Linked DNA regions of Homo sapiens: all the other regions are linked to region 5. The links are contacts of gene promoters, found by promoter capture Hi-C in human tissues and cell types (Jung and others, 2019). All regions are on one chromosome and are shown on one strand. The core of a region is centred on a gene start or on the middle of the fragment in contact, and the rest is flanking DNA. Distances in the headings are between cores, read along the strand shown. Region 1 overlaps XXYLT1 (xyloside xylosyltransferase 1). Region 2 overlaps LOC105374294 (a long non-coding RNA gene). Region 3 overlaps XXYLT1 (xyloside xylosyltransferase 1). Region 4 overlaps XXYLT1 (xyloside xylosyltransferase 1). Region 5 holds the start of TMEM44 (transmembrane protein 44).

Region 1 (4,176 bases), core at 1,509-4,008, 500 kb after region 5:
GCCTAGTGACGTCTTGGGGATCCTGACCCTGTGCAGGCCTAGGCTGATGTATGTGTTTGGCTTGTTTTTAACAAAAAAGTTTTAAAAAATTAAAAACTTACAAAATGGAAAAAAGCTTACAGAATAAGGATAAAAAGAAAAAGTATTTACTTTTGGCTGGGTGTGGAGGCTCATGCCTGTAATCCTGGCACTTTGGGAGGCTGAGGCAGGAGGGTCGCCTGAGCCCAGGAGTTTGAGACCAACCTCGGCAATATAGTGAGACCCCTGCCAAGTAAAAGACAGACAGACAGACAGAAAGAAAGAAAGAAATTTTTGTACAGCTGTACAATATATTTGTGTTTTAAGCTGAGTGTTATTACAAGAGTCAAAAAGGTTTTTAAAATTTAAAAGTTTCTAAGGAAAAGAGCTGCAGTAAGCTCAGGTTAATTTATTTTTGAAGAAAGAACATTTATTTCTATAAATTTAGCATAGCCTACAGGTGCCTGAATAGAAAAAGCTTACAGCAGTGCAAAGTAACGTCCCAGGCCTTCACACTCACCCACTGACGCACCCGGAGCAACTTCCAGTCCTACAAGCTCCACTGATGGTAGATGCCCTATACAGAGGCACCATTTTTCATGTTTTACTCTTTCTATGTACTGTACTTTTTCTATATTTAAGTATTTTTAGATATACAAATATTTACCCCTGTGTTATAGCTGCCTACAGTGTTCAGTACAGAAACATGTTGTACAGGTTTGTAGCCCAGGAGCACGAGGCTACCCCTATACCATACACCCCATTGCTCCCAGGCTACAGACCTGTATACCATGCTACTGTAATGAATCAGCACACACATTTGTGTTCCCAGCAGCTGACAAGATTAATCTTCAGGATGCCAGGAAGGGACTCGGAGAAAGCTACAAGCTGGGGCCCTGGCTTCCCCGGTAAGAAATGTATGTCTGCATAGAGTTCCTCCAGACAGGCCTGCTCCCTGCCTCTGGAAGCCTGGCAGAGAGGAAACGCTTTCCATCCGTATTTCCCACTGGCTGGCATCATGGCGTGAAGAGGGGTGTGTGTGTGTGTGTGTGTGTGTGTGTGTGTGTGTGTGTGTGCGTGTGCGCGCGTGCGCGCACGTGCAAAGAGCTATCAGCTATTTCCAAAGACGACTCAGTAAATAAGAGCTTTTCTGTAAATCTGAGTATCTGAAGGACTTTTGTGGGGAAAGGTGTGAGGACATGTTTTCGTTTGGCATCAGAGTATGTTTGGCAGGGGCAATGGGTAGAAACCACAGGGGCGTAGATTGTTTTAGGTTTAATAGACAGAAAGACATTCTAACAAACTCATCCAATCATCAAATAATGGGCTGCTCTGAAAGTGGCCACGTCCCCACTGTGGGAGGTGATCCGCTTGAGACTGACAGATCTGGGATGCTGCAGGCGGAATCCAACATGAGGCGAGATACCCTCGGTGTCCCTCCCATTCCCAGAATTCTGCGACGATATCAACAGAATCTATAATGGTCTGCTAGAGTTAGGAAAGATAGTTCAATTCACCTTTCTCATTTTACACAGGAGGAAACCAAGGTGGATAGGAAGGGACTGGACCCGAGGCACCTGAGTCTATCTTTCCATCCCCTTATCAAAAAAGAGTCAGTCAGCAGGGGCAGGGAGGTTTGTTCAGCATTTCAGTGAAGAGAAAGGGGTGTTGGGAGATGGGAGGGAGGACAGTGAAGTACAAGTGGCTTCCATTTTCCAGGGCAGATGACACACTGGGCACCTCCACACTTCCCTGGAGAACCCAGGCTGGCTCGGAACACAGTCCCTAGGCCTCAGCACCAGGAGGCTGAGACCCACGGGAATGACACTGTGGCAGAAGTCAGCTGCTTTTGCAGTACATAGCAGGATGGGGTTCCTGTGACTGAAGGGGCAGACACGGAAACTCAGACTGGAAGAGCTTTCTACTGTAGAAAAGAGGTTTTTACTGTGGGAAAGAGATTTTCTACAGTAAATCTTTGCTGTCACCTTAGATGGATAAATGGATGGACGGATGGACAGACGGGGATGGCAGGACGGCAGTCAGGTAGGCAGGCAGGCATTATTCTAGTGCTTCCCTAGGGTAAGAGAAAGGTTCACCCGACTCAGGCTGCAGACATAAAAAAGTGAAACCCATGCCCTCTGATAATGACCAACATTCCCTCTATGGTGTAGAAGCTATGAATGGCCTGGCTGGATACAGTTTCCACTAAAACCTACACCACTGAGATTTCCCAATGATCAGAAGCCCTCAGCAACAGTCTGAGAGCAGCCATGCACGGCTGCCTTTAATTACACACTGATCACAGCATCACCAGGGCCGTCACCATGCTGGGAGGAAAAGCGATAACATCATTTTGCTGGAGAGAGCCCCACACGTCAGAGCAGAAATGCAGCCTTTGCCAAATGTGACTGTGGACAGAGATGAGAGATCCACTCGGACAGCGCTCAAACGCCAACGTAGGACCCTCAGTGCTCCTATAGGTTTGAATGAAAAGACTATCTTTAACATACACCTGTATACTGCAACCCACCCCGGCCCAAAAAAATAAATGGGACTCAGTGACCCAGGCTATAAGGTGGCTGGGTAGGAGACTGCAAAACATCTCAAGAGCTGCTATTTCCTAATTCAGGAAATAGAGGATGTGGTCTAAGAACCATCACTCCAGGACCTCAGGGGCAGAGGGGACAGGCAGGGGACTGAGCCCAGGAACCTGGGTTCTAGTCCTGACCAAGCGGCCCCGGGTGAACGCAACTTACCGAAAACTTAGTGTCTTCTACAAAACAAGGATAAAACCACCTGCGTTCTTATGTCACTGAATTAGTATGAGGAGCAAATTTAAAATATGAATGTAAAACCAATTTGCACACAGTTGAGCACCGTTCAAGCACACAGGACGACAGCACTGCTATAAGCCCTGGCCAGAAGCACACAAGGTGAAGTGGGCAGCTCACAGGACGCAGGGAGCTGCCAGGAAGGCCACTGCATGTCTGTCAAAGGGCATGGAGACTTCAGCCTGGACAAGAAAAATAAATAAATAAATAAAAACAAGCAGAGGTCCAAGGAGATAAATAACTTATTCTTTGTTTTAGACCATTTTTAGAAGTGGCGTCGAAGGGTAAAAACCTTCATCAGAAAGGCCTGGACCCAGAAAACAGGTTCTCAAACTGAGAAATGAGCACAGGATTGAGTGTCTAAAAGGAGATGATTACACTGCAACTCGTTCGAGTCCTAGGAGGCTGTCCACAAGCTTAGGCTTAGCTGCAGGCAGCCAATGGGATCCTTCAATCATACAGGTACAGCCTGCCACAGTGCCCAGGTGCCTCATCAGCTTGCTGTGGGGGCCAGGACAGAGAAGGGGCACTGAAGGGAAGAAAAAAGTGGAGGGAGAAACAAAGTGGGGTGTGACACTTTTCTTCTGGGGCAGGGGAAGGGGTGACATGTAGGGACAGGGGCATTACAAACTGAAGTTTGAGATGCTTTAATAATGGTGCTTCAAAAATCCTTGACCCCATATTGTTGGAAGCTATTTTCAGCTGGCAATTTACAAAACCACACATGGTCAGCTCCAATCTGGCCACAGTTTCTGCACCTTTGCCATTGGGCTTTCGGCACTGGTCTTCTGCACCATGGATAAGAGCACAAAGCCATGTTTTCCCACATGGGTAAAGGGTGGGGTAAGGGTGTGCACCTGCCTGTAACCTCAAAGACCGTGAAGAGAAAGGGGCTAGTGGCAGCTTCATCCAAGGCAGAAGGTGATTCCTTCCTGCACAGCACACTCCCTTTCTAGGCCAGGACAAATTCCTTCTGGCTTCAGAGGTGGTGCTGCTGCGCACTCTACATTTAACCTCTCCGTGCTCTGTAAATACTGCCTGCTTTGGCTTCACAGCACCAAGGAAAGTTATGGCTTGTATCGGACACGGAGAAAGGGAGAGGGCTCTGATGGAGCTGCTCTGTGCTTAGTATTATGTCATGTGTACATGACATCATTGTATTCTCAGCTACTTACTGAGTACCCTTAAGTAGGTCCTGAAGGCCAGTGATTCTCAAACAGGAGGAAGAGAGGGGTCATAAACCCTTGCAGGTCAGAACTGGCAGGCAGGCTTTATCAGACACACCCTTTCTGCCTGCATAGCAACATGTGAGTCCCAGATCTCAAAT
Region 2 (3,812 bases), core at 245-2,744, 350 kb after region 5:
TAGCACAGCCATTTGGGGAACAGCTTTGCAGTTATTATTAACATTGAAAAATGCACACATTTTATGACCGAAAAAATTCCCAAGGCATCAACCCTAGAGAAACTCTTCTATGAGGGTAAGAAAACACCTCAGCCTTGTAATAATGAAAACATTTTTAAACAACCTAAATTTTCATCTAAAGTAAAAGTGGTACATATTAATTAGCAGCAGTGAAAAGCAATGAACTATATCTGCGTATCTTGACATGAACAGATCTTCTAAGCCCCGTAATGAGTGAAAAAATCAAAGTGACATATATATAGAGAGAGAGAAAGATTATTTATTACATAAATTTATTACATAAATTTTTTAAATGTGGAAGATAATACTTTACATGATTAGGGACACAAATATATATTATAAGCATTTTTTAAGTGGACAAGAAGGCACATACCAAATTTATGACAATAACTTCCTCTGGAAAGGAAAGGAGGGAAATAGGAATGGGTAGTGATAAAAGTGAGATTCAATTTCATCAGTGAATTTCCTTTTTTAAAGCTCTCTGTGGGATTAATATGATGCTGTGTTTTAGACCATTTTCTGTTGCTTTAATAGAATGACTGATACTGGGTAATTTATAAAGACCAAAAGGTTATTTGGCTCATGGTCTTGGAGGCTGGGAAGTCCAAGGGCATGGCATCAGCACCTGGTGAGGGTTTTCTTGCTCATCATAACATTGGGGAAGGCATTATACAGAGAGAGAGCAAGCAAGCACATATGAAAAAGACTGCAAAAGTGAGCTGAGCTCATTTTATAACAACCCACTCTCGTGAGAAGTAACTTCCTCCCTAGAGAACTAATTCACTCCCATGATAATGGCAGTAATCCATGCAGGAGGGCTCCACTCTTGTGATCCAAGGATCTCTTAAAGGCCCCACGTCTTAATACTGTTACATTGGCAATGAAGTTTGTAACACATGAACTTTTAGGGGGCACATTCAAACCAGAGCAGGCTGGGACTTCAAATCTCACCCTACTGAGTTTCTTCCCCTTCTCTGACCTGCATCTCCCATTGTCTTGCCAGTTTCTCCTGGGAGCGCTTCCCTGATAAACTGTGTGCACAGTGAACCTCATCCCACGGTCTGCTACTAGAGAGCCTGTCCTAAGACGATGAGGCACTCAAGCGTCTCCCCCTCACTCCAATTCTTTGCTCCATCTTTGGTAGGCTGAAAAATGACTCCTGCCCCCACAAAAAATCAGTATTCTAATCCATGTGACCTGTGAATTTTACATTGTATGGCAAAACAAAGGGGTCTTTGCAGATGAGAGTAAATTAAGGATCTTGGGACGGAGGGTTATCTGGATACGCCCTAAAGGCACACACATTTATCCTTATCAGAGTGAGGCAGAGGGAGATTTGACCACACACACAGATGAGAAGGCCATGTGACGATGGATCAGGGAGAAATTCAAAGATGCTGGCCTTGAAGATTGGAGTGATGAGGCCACAAACCAAGGAATGCCAGCAGCCACCAGAAACTGGAAGAAACAAGAAACAAATTATCCCCTAAAGCTTTCAGAGGAGCATGGCTGTCTATGATTTTGAACTTCTGAGCTCCAGAACTGGGAGGGAATAAGTTTATGGTAATTCGTTAAAACAGCCATGGGAAACCAACATGCTCTCCTACTAATAAAAGCTTATAATCCTTACACCATGCTTACCATATCCCAGGCCCTGTGCTGAACTTTCACCCTGGTTGTCTCACGTAAGACTCACAATATCTCTTTGGGTTAGTTAATTCACAGGAGCAAAAACTGAGGTTTGAAGAAGTTAAATGACTTGCCCAGGGTGACACAGAGTCAGGATTCAGACACAGGCAGGCCAACTCCAGAGCTGTCCTTCTCTACAAGTACTGTGGTCCCACCTTTCAAGTTGGGAGGCCCAGCAGGGATGGTTATCAAGCAGGGAAGAAGGGGAGGTATGTCCAGTCTCTGCTGTATGTCAGGATCCCAGAAAAAAAGCATTAGAAGCCTGGGCTCTGGTATCTCTCCACCTGCCAGACCCCACCCACCAGTTCCAAGGAAAGGCAGCCCCAGCAAACGTCTCCACAGGGACTGAGCAAGGCAGATGGCTGGGCTGCTGAGCAGACGGAGGGAGCCCAGGGCTTTCTGTGCTCAAGGCCTGCTCAGAGAAGGTTGGTCTGGACACCCCAACCAGCCAGTTCACCAAGCACTGGCATCTTCCCACAAGAGAAGAAAGGAGGGAAAGATGGAAAAGAAAGAGGGAGGAAAACAAAACAGCCCAAACAGCCCAAATCACTCCTCCCCCAACAGCTGCGTTCAACAAAGGGACATTAAATTAAATTCTTGAGGAAACAGGGCTCAGAGGGTAGGACCATGCCAAGTGAGCCCAGGAACACTTACCACTCTTCGGAACCCAATTAGCCTCCCTTTGGGACACTGGGCTCTTCATTAATCCCTTCTCTGGCTGAAAATGAGGTCCCTGTGCTTTGATCCCCTCTGCCTGCCTGCCAGGGCTCCTGGCTGGGAAATGTCACATCTGCCACTGCTCACACCATTGTCTGAGCTTACAGACCCATGGCTCTCCAGTAGCATAGGCCACGCTGCCAGAAGCCCCTCCAAACACTCACCCAGACTTGAGTGTGGTCCCCAGATACACCCAACATACTCTCTGGGCACCATCAGAGAAAACTCAGACCCAGTACCTGCCATGAAAGAACTTGAGATGGAAGAGGGAGAAAAACTTATACAAAAACCTTTGATATGGCCCATAAAATCTCATCAGAGCCTCTACTTTACTGAGCACTGGCCTAATCCCATTCCCACATGGTCCATAAACACTTTTGTGTCCCTTACCCCACTGGGCCTGTCGCCCTGCTGTCCTGCCCTGATGCAGCTGGAGGCTGGGGGGCTCCAGCCTTCTCCTGAGGATTCCTGTCTAAATGCTCAGCTGCTCTGGAATTCACAGGAGCCCAGGGCATGGGGCCCACCTGGTCTCCTGCTTCCTTCAGGTTGTTGCAGAGCCCCTGTCCTCCCTCGCCTTCTCTACCCCTTTGCTCCCCCTGCCTCGCCTGCAGCTGTCCATGAGCTCTGCTCAGCAAGTCCCAGCTGACCTGGATCTTTCCTTTTTTTCCAGCTAAACAGATATCTGCCTTGCTAATACTGACTGCCTTTCAAAGCATAATTATGATGTGTTGTGTTAAAATCACACTCCAGTAAGGAGCAGGAGACAGGGGAGAGGAATGGATGGGATGAAGAGGGCCAAGAGTCTCTTCCTGTCTCCCGGTGCAGGGATTAAGAGACTGAAGAGGGCATTCTGGGGAAACTGAGGCTCAGAATGGCCCAATAACCTGCCCAAAGCCAGACAGTCTGTAACTGGTGGAGCTAAGATCCTGCTGTTGACTTCATTTGCAGGTGGAGGAGGATGAGAAGGAAGTTTAGGGTGCATCTGCCAGGTCTGGGCAGAGCCTGCCCCAGTTGTGTTCAAGGTCCAGTGTTCAACACCCCCACCCTGGCCCCATGCGGGACTCCAGGGAAAGCCTGGAACCACGCCCCGGGAAAACACACAGGAACTCTGAGGGCTGGGCAGGGAGGGCTGCGGAGCTGCCCAGGACACCTTGCCTGACAAGGGCTCCTGCCATGCAGCTCATTTCAGCATAACACCTGCTTACGACGGCCTGCTCTGCCTGGGGAAGGATATCAGGCCCCGTGGAGGATGCACAGCGAAGCCAGCACGTCCCTGACCTCAAGAAGTTGCCAGCCTCCCGAGGGAGATGGCTGTCGCACGGACTCCCGCACCCACCAGAAGGCCT
Region 3 (4,285 bases), core at 1,139-3,638, 440 kb after region 5:
GGTTATAAAGCAGCTAAAATTCTACCAGGCAGACCAGGGCACCATGACATCAGAGAGGAGGGACCCTCTGACTAGGGGCAGTGGGTGCTTTACCACCAAGGAGCTCGATTTACCCTTCGAGGGGTGGGAACGAAGCGTTTACCGAGGTGGAGCAGAGACCCAAAGGGAGGGAGGGCACGAGAAGCAGGGAGGCAGGACCTGTGGCCGCCGAGGTCCTGGACTACCTCATGCTCCACGGAGCCCACGTGTCCATCTTTCTTTACTGTCCAGAGTACCCAGGAGGGAGAGGACTCACCCAGCTGGGGGTGTGGCCCGTGCAGTCTCTTGTGTCCACAGGACCTCACAGGGCACCAGCACAGCAGGGCCACAGGAAAGATCACAGGGCTGATGAGGAACGATGGAAAGGCAGGCGTGGGGTGGACCGTGCAGCTGTCGACACCGGGTGGAAGCAGGGGGCAGGACACTGAGGACACGATGCTGCACCTGCAGATTCACTGAGCCCTCAACCTCCCCACCAGATCTACTGTGGGGTTGAGTGAGGAGCAGGAACCCGGAGAGGCTCAGGTGTCTTTTTAAACGGCTTTACTCCTAGCAAGTGGGGAGCAAAGAGGCCGCCCACTGTTCCAGGTATCCTTACCAACCTCGGCAGGAACGCTCCCAAATCTTCTGTGTCTGCAGCAAGGAGGAGCAAACAGTGAACTAGCACTGAGCTCGCTGGGCTCAGGAGATGGGGGCCGCAGGCAGAGAGAAGAGGACAGAATATGCCTCCAGGAGAAGGCCACAGCACAAGTGGCTCTTTGGGGACAATGCTCAGCACCACCACTCAATCAGGATGAAGAGGTATTTGATGATGGTCAGAAAGGACTGGTCTGGGCATCAGCCTGAGAAGGAAAGGAGGGACAGGAAATTGGGCGTGCAAGCTGCCCCGTGTGTGTGCTGCAGCAGAAACACAGCCTGAAAAGGAACAATGACTGTCCCCACCCAAAGCGATGTTCAGGGGGCCCTTGTTCAAGGCGTCCCTACTATCCCCAAATGAACCCAGAAAGACAGAGCAGTCACCTAAGGGAATGGTGGGTTTCTCTGGCTTCTGTGTCTGCTGGTTCTCGTAGAGGAATCGCATCAGCCTCGGGGTAGAAGGAATGGTACGGGGTGTGGACAGTATTGGAGCTCGTGCGAGGAACTTCTATCCCATGGCAAAATGGCCTAAACAGGCAGTACCGCCAATCCCCCCAACGCAACAGCACAGCGTGGGTCACGAAGCCCTCTCACACTCTCCACCTCGGCTCCCTCTCCCTGGCAGCCCAGGGACATTACTGCCTGCATTTTTGCAGAAAGGGAACAGAGGTCCTCAGTTTGTCGCAGGCAGGGCTTCTGATCTCTGAGGTCCCTTTGATCTGACTGCCTCGGATTCCACGGGCTAGGGTTCCAAGGAGGTGCGCTTGGATTTCAATCTTATTTCTGAATTTGGGTGGCACCGGCCGAGGCCAGGGGACAGGGTGATCGGGTGATGCTGGCACATTAGGAACTTAGGGCTCAGACCTGAGGCCTCTACGAGGCAGGGCAGTGAGTGTCCCAGACCCCTGCCCTTCTTCACAGGAGTCTGGGGCTGACAACGTATATTCAGGGGCACTGTCTGTGGCACGTGCAGAGGCTGCAGGAAACCTTTGTATAAATGCAGGTATTTGGTTCTGAGTCCTGGAGCATCCAGAAGTTTCTCTGACTAACCCCTCCCCCCCTCATGCCCACAACCCAGCCACTTTGCTCTAACTATCTGGATTGTCTAACCGTCCGGCCTGTGGAGAGTCTTGTTCCTGTCTTCCATAGTCACCTGGAGACCCACGGTAGAGGGGATAAGCCTTTTTCACCCCTTTAGAAATAATTTCAACTGGAAAACAAGCCCCCACGCAGACAGTCCCTGGTAAATATTGGGTCTTTTCAGAAGTCAAGGAGGCCCTTTGGGAAAATAAAAATTAAGAAGCTTTAAGAACATTCTTCCAGTCATAAATGCATTTTCTAAATTTTTAACATTGAATATAACTTAATAATCATAAAAAAGACTATTAAAAGCTAGTCAACTAGTTTTCATGAAGAAAACCCATCTTTATGGAAAAGGGCATCTGAAGTCATTTGGAAAAGCACAGTTACTTCCTCGCTTCAAGTCTTTCCCTGATGATCACAACCAAGGCCGCTCTGCTAAGGGCTCTCGAGAGAGCCGGGCTGGAGAATCTAAGGGCTCGTCCTCCCCAGTAAAGGGCACACGTGGCCATCAGCCCTCCCACCTCCTCCTCCCACCACTCCAAACCACAGGCCCTTTTGCCTCCGACTCTTCGTGATTTTTTTTCTCCTGCCCCTTTCTCAGCTCCTCAGGTCGAGTTCACCACCACCACCTCCAAGAGGGAGGAAGCGAGGATGGGAAAATGCTGAGCCTGGGCTGTCTGCACAAGACTCTGCAGGAAGGTTCTAGAAGCCTGTGCTGACTCAGGCTAAGTTCAGGCTGTAGACTGTCAGGCAAAGAAGGCTCCATTTGAGGTCTGAGATTCAGCACACGGCCTCGCAAGGCGTACCTCTGGGGCGTCCTTCAGCCTTGAGAGCAGTCACTGAAGGGCCAGCATCTGGGCCTCCTCCCAGAGGAAGCACCCGGCCCAGAGGCTGTGCAGTCAGTGAGGCCTGGAACCCGGAAACGTGATTTCCCTCATACCCATGCATGTGTGCCTGGCCCAATGAGCTCGTTTGGCGTGGAAGGGACCTTGTTTTCCAGTCATCCAAGATGAGAGTCCAGGAGGGAAAAGCAACACTCAGCAGCTGTCCAGCACTTCATCCACACCAGCCAGGTCCTCTGGGGTGATCCAGGGACATTTCAAGTCCACCCAGGCCCAGAGGCTCTCCGGACACCCTGCGCCCTGGCTGGGTGATGTCGGCTAATTTCAGACCCATGACCCTGCATCTTGGTCCTACCTGGAGCTAAGGCTGAAGTTCTGTGGGGCAGTCTCGAGCTCTTCAGTCCTTTAGGGGAACCACTGCCCTGTGGTATCAAACTGGAGAAGACATGGACATCCTGGAGTTGTAGGACCACCACGGAGCTCTAAGTACCCGTGTCCCTAGAGCAGTCCTTACTGCCAGCTCAGAACTGACCCTTATTAGGATCTCTTGATAACAAGACCTAAAGCAGGCTGAGGTCTCCAGCTCTACTGGACAGAGAAGGTAAGAAGTGTTCCCAGGCCGGGAGCGGTGGCTCGCACCTGTAATCCCAGCACTTTGGGAGGCCGAGGTGGGCGGATCACCTGAGGTCAGGAGTTCGAGACCAGCCTGGCCAACATGACAAAACCCCGTCTCTACTAAAAATACAAAACTTAGCCGGGCATGGTGGCGTGCGCCTGTAATCCCAGCTACTCAGGAGGCTGAGGCAGGAGAATCGTTTGAACCCGGGAGGCAGAGGTTGCAGTGAGTTGAGATTGCACCATTGCACTCCAGCCTGGGCAACAAGAGTGAAACTCCGTCTCAAGAAAAAAGAATAAGTGTTCCTAACGTCACACAGGCCATTTGCAGTAGGACTAAGAGATGCTCCTCATAGAGCCACGGTCTACCAGAGCCTGAAGACTGAGGGACTCCTGGTTCATATACCCATTGTGCAGATGAGGAAGCTGAGGCTCAAAAACTGGCCTGTCCAGGGTCACGCTGCTGAAAGGGCAACTCCACATTTCCAGGCAAATAATTTATGCTTTTCCACAAATGCCTCTGCCCAGAAAAGGGAACTGCTGCCTCCCACCTACCCAAAACAAGCCCTGTGGTGAGGCGAGGCAGCACCGCTCAGACAAAGCCAGCCTGCCAGGAGGCGCAGAGGCTGTGCTTTCCCCTCCAGCAGGGCCCACGTCCTCCAAGCTCACCACACTAGCACTTGGAGGAGAGCTGGGTGCCCGAGTGGCTGGCAGGACTTGCCTGGGGAAATAGGAGGGACACTAAGCAGGTGGCAGGCATGTGCTCACCCTCGTCTGTGGGACCTCCTAAGAAACATGTGCTTGTTTTCAAACCCCAGCCCTCTTTGAAGGCCAGCAACTGAGTTGCCAAACCACAACATCCCCAGAACTTGGAAGGGGCAAGCGAGGTCGAGGCGCGGCTGTTGCTTTGCAGGCTGAGTGGGCACTGGGGTTGGCCCTCAGTGCTGCAACCAGGCTGCCTGGCAGGACAGGAGAGGACTGCTGGGGCACCGGGCCCCACAGAGACCCTGTGGGGAGGCACACCGCAGAGGGCTTCCCCTCCAGGCCCTCCCTCCAACATGAGCCACAGC
Region 4 (4,074 bases), core at 1,214-3,713, 480 kb after region 5:
TAACAGACAGACTTCTAACATAAGCTGTCTTCACAGGGCCTTGAGGCTGGATTACCTCAGTTACAACAAAACAGAATTTTCAAAAATAGGAACTCAACTTAAAGATTTAAAATTGAGGTAAAGTGGCCTTCGGAAAAATATGTAAATACAAGATCATTTGCTCGCCCCAATCGTGGAAGCTTGATTCAAATAGCGCGTGCCTGCTCTACATGCAAAGTGAACATCCTGATTGCCTGTAAATGCCTCAGGAACTCATTTCTTCTACAGTTTACTTGGCATTACTATCGCTGCAGAAATGTGCAAATGAGACGGGTGCTAATATCAATCAGTACATTGGTATATACCAAATCAGCTTAAGTGAGGACAAGATAGTTATAATTATTCTTAAAACCCACGAGACCATTTCTAGCCGTCAGGAGGGCCCATGAACTAGGAAACTGAGGCTTGCTGACATCTCAGCGACACCTGGGCAAAAGCCTACTGGAATCCGGGTCAGGTTCTGTGGGCTGCCATGGCTGAACACTGGGCAAACACGGGTTTCGCTGATGCTTTGGGGTTCGCAAGCCCCAGAAGATCTGTCCACACTGATCCACTCTGCTCAGTTCTGAGGCAACTCGGGGCAGGGCCATCGAGCCCACCCACCCCAGCAAGGACTGCACGTGCGCACGTGCGCGCACACACACACATGCACACACACGCACGCACACCCACACGCATGTGCACACCCACACACATGCACACACGCATGGACACATGCACACACCCACACACACCCACACACACACACAGAGCCCCCAGCCCCAGGTGGGAACAGCTAGATGAAGCAGTGCACACACACGCACGCACACACACACACGCATGCACACACACGCACACATGTGCACACACACACCCCCATGCACACACGCAGCTCCCAGCCCCGGGTGGTGGGAATAGTTGGATGAAGCAGTGCACACACACACGTATGCACACACGCAGCTCCCAGCCCCGGGTGGTAGGAACAGCTGAAGCAGTGCGCGCATGCACACACACACACCCATGCACACACGCAGCTCCCAGCCCCAGGTGGTGGGAACAGCTGAAGCAGCGCACACACGCACACACACCCACACGCATGCACACACATGCATGCACACATGTGCGCACATACACGCAGCCCCCAGCCTCCAGCCCCAGGTGGTGGGAACAGCTGGATGAAGCAGTCAAGAGAACATGGGTTTCAAAATCCAATCTGGGTTTCAACTGCAGCCATGCCCCTCACTCGCCGTGCCATCCCAGGCAAGCTGTTGCTCTTCTTTGAGCTTCAGCTTCCTCCCAGATAGGAACATTAATCCATACCCAGAGGCTGTGTGAAGATTAAACAGCATTTCATATGAGGAGCCCTCGCACAGAGCCTGGCAAGAGCCACTCCTTGGTCCGTGGACCTTCCCGTCTTTTCTCCCTTCCACAGTAAGGATGGAGCCGCCTCAGGAAAACATCTCCCACTGATTTCGCCGCAACTGCAGGATGGAAACGGAGGTGAACATCTGGCGGGAGCTCGGAAAAACGCCAGTTTCTGACACTATCTTCGACAAGCCAGGGAGTTGGGAAAGCTTGGGAGGGGAGTGGTGCACTAACGTATATTAACACTTACTACGAGGCAGGCACCGTTCCAAGAAGCTGACATGTTTTCAAGAATCTTAATTCTCAGAACATCCCTGATTAGGTAGTACGCTTATCCTTAACATAGGGGGAAACTGAGGCACAAAGCGGTTTACTGGTTTGTCCAAGGTCACAGGGCTATTAAATAGTGGAGCCAGGACCTGAACCCAGGCAGTGTGAACCCAGCACTCACGGTCTTTTTTGTTAGAATCCTTTTTCTCTTTAATCAGTTTTGGATTTCCCCTCTGTTTCATGAGCTTTTTGCTTTACTTTTTAGCCATTCATTCCACAAACACCTACTCGGAGCCAGGCCTGGGAATGCCGAGCTTGGCTGAGGGAGCCTGCACAGCACCCACAGGACCAGGCAAAGAGGCGGAAAGGGGTGTGGCCAGGAGAAAGGGTTGTGGCCAGGAGAAAAGGGTGGAAAGGAGCCCTGGGCATTCTGATAGTGCCAGAGGGTGCTCCTGAGGCCGGCGGGCAAAGAATGCTATGAAGAAGGGGTGTCTGAGTTGGCCATGAATGACAGAGAGGATTTCTCAAGGTAGAGATGGGTGAAGAGAAGTCCCTCCAGGTGGCAGGAACAGTGCAAGCAAAGATAAGCAGGTGAAAGCTTGGCACAGCATCTGGGAGCCATGAGTGCCCAATTTGGCTAGAGCGTACTGAGTCAGTGCCAGGTCACAAACGCCTTGAGTGCCAGACCCCTGGGTTGAAGATTCTGAATGCATTCCAAGATTCAATTAAGGAAGCAGGATGATCTGCCCATGATTTTGCCCACTTATGGTGGCAGCCAATCATCCTGCAACAACTGTGCCCCAGTCCACACGCTTCCAGGGAAAGCTGCATTGGGTGGCCCCCTTCTCGCTCCTCCACGTGAAGCCCTGAACTCAGCTGCCCAAATTTGTTTCTCCACAAAGTACAGCCACACCATTGCACCCAAAATGGAGGATCTGAGGGGCCAAGGAATGACTACTGCCTGGAGAGCCGGGAGACACGGAGCATCACCTTCCACCTGCGTTGAGCTTCTTTTCATTTCACTCCATGTACTAAATAAGCCATTTTGAGCACCTGCTCTGTGTACGGTCCTGTGCCTGGGTCCCATGAGACCCAAATCATTGTCATTTCTCTAGCACTTGAAACACATCTGTCCCCCTACACCCACAATCACATTATACAACCATGTCATCAACAAGTACATTTCTACTAAAAAGTTCCTGCTCATGACAGTGCTGGGAGGACATCTCTTTACACGTTTAATTACGAAGACCAGGACCAGACATGAAATCCTAATGACCCAAATGAACAGCACTTGATGTAGAAGGCAGCGCGGCTTTGCCCACATTCCCTGAACCTCTGTCAAGCTTGTGACAAGCTTTCGTCAATCAGACGAAACTAAGTGAAAAAGCAATCGCTTTTGGAGCACGCAGGAAGGTAGCAGTCTTACAGGCTTAGAAAACCAGGGAGGAGTGAAGCCGCTCAGTGGTCTCCCTGCCGGTGCAAGGAGGCTGCCACCTGCAGAAGGTGCTAACGCCAAGTGTGGGAAGACACCGGGGTCGGCCTGGGCGCAGTCACTCCTGGGTGGAGGCTGAGCTTGGGAGTGTGAATGCCGCAGGCCCCACCCGTTCCACTCGTCAAAATCGTACCTAGCTGAGGTTGCACAGTTGGCTCCTCCCAAACCTCCCGTTGATCCTCCTCCTATTGAGAGGTTGGAACGAGGGAAACTAAGCTTCCCAGATGCCCAAACGGCGAGAGCTCGGGACGTGAATCAGGTGCTGCGACTCGGGAACTAGTGTGCTCACATGAGACGTGCCCGGTGAGAATGTGGCTTCTGGCTGTCACTGCTGGTTAGACGGTCCCAGTCACCTTGAACCCAGGTCGTGCTGCCGCTTCCTGAGTACCAGAAAAGCAGGGCAGTGGTGGTGATTTCTGTCCAAACTCCATAATCCTCAGACCTCAACTTAGACTGTTCATCCTTCAGCCTCCTAGAGAGTCCAGGAATGGCTGTGGGCTGGCAACAGCTGCTTCTGAACTAGCCAGGAGTCCTTCAAAAGGCCCAGCCGGAAACCTGCCCCTTGAGCCCCTCCAACAATGTTGTAAGCACCTAATTCCAACAAGAAACTCCTTCTGCTTACACCACCTGGAGTGGTTTCTGCTTCCTACGCGATCCCTGGTTGATAAACCCTGCCTGGCAAACCGAGCACGCGTGAAGGCCTCAGGAGCCACAGTGGAAGTGGTTTGGAAAGCACAGCTATTTACAGGACGACTCCCTTCATCTGGTGCGGAGCAGTAACCCCCTCGTCTGGCTCCGGCAGCACACCGTGTGCGCTCTCACCTTTGAGCTGAGGTGTTCACGTCCGAGGTGGAGGAAGGAGGGCGGCAGGTGCAGGCCAGGACCGGACCTCGGTTATCTAGAGAGTAACTAACAGTGCTTTGTCA
Region 5 (4,272 bases), core at 1,315-3,814:
GCTGTCGTACCTGCCTCCCGAAGGGGCTGGCTGTTTCCGTCAGCGTCACTGATGGGGCCTCTGAAATACGTTGTCGCACATGCCTCCTGGAGGGGCTGGCTGTTTCCGTCGGCATCACTGATAGGGCCTCTGAAATAATACGCTGTTGTACCTGCCTCCCGAAGGGGCTGGCTGTTTCCGTCGGCATCACTGATAGGGCCTCTGAAATAATACGTTGTCGCACGTGCCTCCCGAAGGGGCTGGCTGTTTCTATTGGCGTCACCGATAGGGCCTCTGAAATACGTTGTCATACCTGCCTCCCGAAGGGGCTGGCTGTTTCCCTCAGCGTCACTGATAGGGCCTCTGAAATATGTTGTCGTACCTGCCTTCCGAAGGGGCTGGCTGTTTCTATCGGCGTCACTGATAGGGCCTCTGAAATACATTGTCGTACCTGCCTCCTTGCTACATTTCTCTGGAGACACCGAGACAGGGTGGCAGCGCTGGCTTCATTTCCACTCAGCAGAGGGTGGTGCTCATTCCACATCCTTAGGACGATTTAGCTGATTCTGAGCGCCTGTCCTTGGGAATGGTGGATGAGTACAGAGGGCTCTTGGCTTTCTAAACATTTCCTGACCTGCTGGCCCAAGCCTGAAGCTCACAGTGGCAACATCAACTTCAGTCTGGGCCCTGGGCTCCTAAAACCAATTGAAGACCAAGGAGTGGAGATTCTTAAATTGGAGACTCCCAGAGGCGGACCCCAATTAGAAATAATTTATATCAACCCTCCCATTTGAGAGGACAAAACTGAGGCCTCTGGTGAGAAGGTGAGTTAATGGTGGTCTTCTGGCTTCACACGCGGGGGCTTTGCTCCGTACCCTGTTGTTCTCAGCCACTTCCCCAGCTCTTGGGGCCAGGGTGCCAGCTGACCTTAACCCAGCCCACACACCACTCCGAAGACACATTCTTCTAAGAGAAAGGGGAGCAGGGGAGGTTCAGGGATGGCAAGGCCCTGAAAACAAATGGGTATGTCCAGATCCCAGGCAGGGTGAGAAGCAGAGGCTCACTCTTAACCCCTCCAAGGTTGGCAAAGTGCCTAACAGTGCTGGTCTGAGGACAACTGTGAGGAACAAAAGGATAATGCGTGTCCAGCGCCTTGTTAGTTTCCAGCCTCTGATCTGAACAGTTTAATCTCTCTTACCAGCCTGCCCCTTTCCAATAGGATCTGGGGTTTTGGTTCTTTCCTTTCACTCAGACAAGTTATTTAACCTCTCAGAACCTCAGGGTTCCCTACAGAAAGTGGGGGTAACAGCACCTACCTCCTGGTGCTGATATTGTGAGTGGCAGGCATTGAATGAGTTAATGAATGCAACACTGGGCCTACAGTAAATGTTCTAGGCGTCTTTTTATTTGTATTGCAGTACTGGGTAGTGGGGCTGCAGAATCTCTGCAATACGACCAAACGCCTTAGGAGAATATCCACTGAGTGCCTACAGGGAGACAGTTCTAACCTCTCCCAGGGGTGCTGGTCCTTTCTCCCCTGCCAGGGAATGCTTGGGCGGCACCATCCTGAGCACTGCTAGTGGATTTCCATGCCTAGGACAGAGCGGCTGAGGACCTGGAGATTCACTCTTAGAACTTAGGCTACCGTGGGCATCTGGACAAACCAGTCCAGGTGCTGGACAGACCAGGGCAAAGACAGGCCAGCTGGATCATATCACTACCTCCCTTCCCACCTAAGAGGACTTTGGGTAAACTGAGGCCAGAAACATCAAGGGACTTGCCAAGGTCCTAAGAGTTGGTGGCCTAGCTGGAGCAATACAAATGATGTTTAATGAGCATTTACTAAGTGCTTTAACGGTACTGATTCATCGAATCCTCCCATCATCCTATGAGGTATTATCTCCGGTCATAGGAGGCCCAGAGAGGTTCTGGAGCTTGCCCAGGTCACACTGCGAGTCAATGGCGAAGGGCTGACAATAGCACCCAGGGCTCGCGGTGTCCTCGGGGCCCCATCCGCTGCACCACCCAGCCTCCTCCCTTTGGCTCACAGCCCAGCTTCCCTGTGCGTGGGATCCGGAAAGAAGATCCCACTTCAGTCTACAGAGCAATGTTCCATTGGATCCTATTACTGAGCCATCTCCTTCATCCCCCTTTCCGCCCCCTCCTCTAGGTTTCCGAGAGGGAGCAGCAGGGGATTGGCGCCCGTTTCCCCGCCCGACAGCCCCCCGACCCGTGGCCCCATTACAGCGCGTGGGCGGCGATCCAGCAGGAGGAGGCGCAGATCCACAGGCCGAAGGAGATGCAGACGCGGTGGCGGGCGAAGCAGCGGTCCAGGTAGTCCCAGTCCCAGAGCGCGGGCGCGGGGCTGGGCGCCTCCCCCATGGCGCGGCTGGGCGCGCGGCGCGGGGCCGGGGACCTGGGCGCAGCCTCCCTCGCCGCGGGCAAGCCCCGAGCGCCGCCGCCCCGCGTGCCCTTCTCTGGGTTCCGTTCCGCCGCGGCGCCTCCGGCCGAGCGCACCGACCGCGGGCAGAGAAGGGCGCGCTCCCGGGCGCGGGCGGCGGCGGCGAAGGCGCCGGGGAAAAGTTTCCGGGACCGCGCGCTCCCCACCCCTCGCGCTATTGTCGGGGGTCGGCAGGGCGGAGGCCGCCCCCCAGCGGCGGGAGCCGGGAGCTGCGCGCGCACAAAGACTGCGGCCCCCGCCCCCCGCCGACCTCTTCGCGGTCACCCACCTCCAACATCCTGGCCGGAGCGGGGCGGGCGGCTGGGCTCGCGGACGGCCGAGTCCCTGCCGGTCGCTGTAAGGCACGGCGTCCCTTCCTGCGTATTGTCCACATTTCCTGAGCCAACAGCAATTAGTTGCGCTGCTGAAGCGCATGGGTGCTGGGATCCCGAGGTGAAGGGGGCGTGGTCCTGATCGCCGACAGGGCGCAGTAAAAAGGGTGGGGTGCAAGACCAGGAAGGAGGAAACAAACGTGCCGGAGAACAAATACCCCCACATCTGCCTCTCACTCTCCTTTCTGAAGCTGCCAACGGCACCCTCCGCCCCCAGGCAGTCGCCCAAGCCCTGCTCCTGGATGTCATCCTAGCCCACGGCCCCGCAGCCAAGAGCTGGTTATCTCTGCAACCGGCCGCCTCCTGTCCAGCCACACACCGCACAGTTCAAGTACACAGGGCTGTTTTTCTTGAGAGTAAACTATTATTGTAATTTTTAAATCTCCTTATTGATTTTAGTAGGTTTGTTTAAAGCAAGACATGACTTGAAAACAATATTTCTATAGAAGGAGCAGGATTGAAAAAAAGAAAAAAAATCTTTTTTAATTTTCAAAAACTACAGCTTTATTTAGATATTATTTATATGCCATAAGCATAGTCTTTTTTTTTTTTTTTTTTTTTGAGACAGAGTCTCACTCTGTTGCCCAGGCTGGAATGCAATGGTGCGATCTCAGCTCCCTGCAGCCTCCGCCTCCCAGGTTCAAGCAATTCTCCTGCCTCCGCCTCCCAAGTAGCTGGGACTACAGGTGCCCGCCACCACACCCGAGTAATTTTTGTATTTTTAGTAGAGACGGTGTTTCACCATGTTGGCCAGGCTGGTCTTAAACTCCTGACCTCGTGATCTGCCCTCCTCAGCCTCTTAAAGTGCTGGGATTACAGGTGTGAGCCACCACATCCAGCCTACATAGTACTTTTAAAATGTACAATTCTGGCCAGGCACGGTGGCTCACAACTGTAGTCCCTGCACTTTGGGAGGCTGAGGCAGGCGGATCACTTGAGGTCAGGAGCTCAAGACCGGCCTGGCCAACATGGTGAAACACTGTCTCTACTAAAAATACAAAAATTAGCCGGGCATGGTGGTGCGCGCCTGTAATCCCAGCACTTTGGGAGGCCGAGGCAGGTGGATCACTTGAGGTCAGGAGTTTGAGACCACCCTGGCCAACATGGTGAAACCCCATCTCTACTAAAAACACAAAAATTAGCCAGGCATGATGGCAGGCGCCTGTAATCCCAGCTACTCGGGAGACTGAGGCAGGAGAACTGCTTGAACCTGGGAGGCGGAGATTGCTGTGAGCTGAGATGGCGCCACTGCACTCCAGCCTGGGCGACAGAGCAAGACTCCATCTCAAAACAAAACAAAAAATAAAATGTACAATTCAGCAGTTTTTAGTGTATCCATAGCGTTGTGCAACCAACATCACTGTCTACTTTTAGAACATTTTCATCACCCCCATCTGAAAAGAACCCGGCCCACTGGCAGTTACTGTCCACTCCCCTCAACACTCGCAGCCCAGGAATCGC

The links. Contacts are between HindIII fragments. The study calls those that stand out against the background at their distance.
Region 1: a contact is called between a fragment that was not itself captured here and the fragment with the promoter of TMEM44 in region 5, in 1 of the 25 tissues and cell types used here (dorsolateral prefrontal cortex).
Region 2: a fragment that was not itself captured here is called in contact with the fragment with the promoter of TMEM44 in region 5 in 3 of the 25 tissues and cell types used here (pancreas, spleen and thymus).
Region 3: a contact is called between a fragment that was not itself captured here and the fragment with the promoter of TMEM44 in region 5, in 1 of the 25 tissues and cell types used here (pancreas).
Region 4: a contact is called between a fragment that was not itself captured here and the fragment with the promoter of TMEM44 in region 5, in 2 of the 25 tissues and cell types used here (dorsolateral prefrontal cortex and spleen).

What each region holds. Positions count from the first base shown.
Region 1 is chr3:195,133,776-195,137,951 of GRCh38, forward strand. All of the region lies in intron 3 of XXYLT1 (xyloside xylosyltransferase 1), which reads right to left. MIR3137 (microRNA 3137) reads right to left here and starts at 805; the gene lies at 731-805. The HindIII fragment of the contact is 6,136 bases long and covers 1-4,176 here.
Region 2 is chr3:194,981,268-194,985,079 of GRCh38, forward strand. It overlaps LOC105374294 (a long non-coding RNA gene), which reads right to left. Exons shown (of 4, transcript XR_924873.2): 4 at 316-1,518. Among named protein-coding and RNA genes, the nearest start is that of XXYLT1-AS1, 110 kb to the right of the region's middle. The HindIII fragment of the contact is 5,353 bases long and covers 1-3,812 here.
Region 3 is chr3:195,071,753-195,076,037 of GRCh38, forward strand. The region is part of intron 3 of XXYLT1 (xyloside xylosyltransferase 1); the gene reads right to left. Among named protein-coding and RNA genes, the nearest start is that of XXYLT1-AS1, 21 kb to the right of the region's middle. RefSeq lists an enhancer at 1,352-1,852. The HindIII fragment of the contact is 7,435 bases long and covers 1-4,285 here.
Region 4 is chr3:195,111,741-195,115,814 of GRCh38, forward strand. All of the region lies in intron 3 of XXYLT1 (xyloside xylosyltransferase 1), which reads right to left. Among named protein-coding and RNA genes, the nearest start is that of XXYLT1-AS1, 19 kb to the left of the region's middle. The HindIII fragment of the contact is 3,156 bases long and covers 886-4,041 here.
Region 5 is chr3:194,630,855-194,635,126 of GRCh38, forward strand. It overlaps TMEM44 (transmembrane protein 44), which reads right to left and starts at 2,565. Exons shown (of 10, transcript NM_001011655.3): 1 at 2,225-2,565. The coding sequence starts at 2,361. It overlaps TMEM44-AS2 (TMEM44 antisense RNA 2), which reads left to right and starts at 2,074. Exons shown (of 2, transcript NR_186047.1): 1 at 2,074-2,313. RefSeq lists a silencer at 2,334-2,763. The HindIII fragment of the contact is 16,299 bases long and covers 1-4,272 here.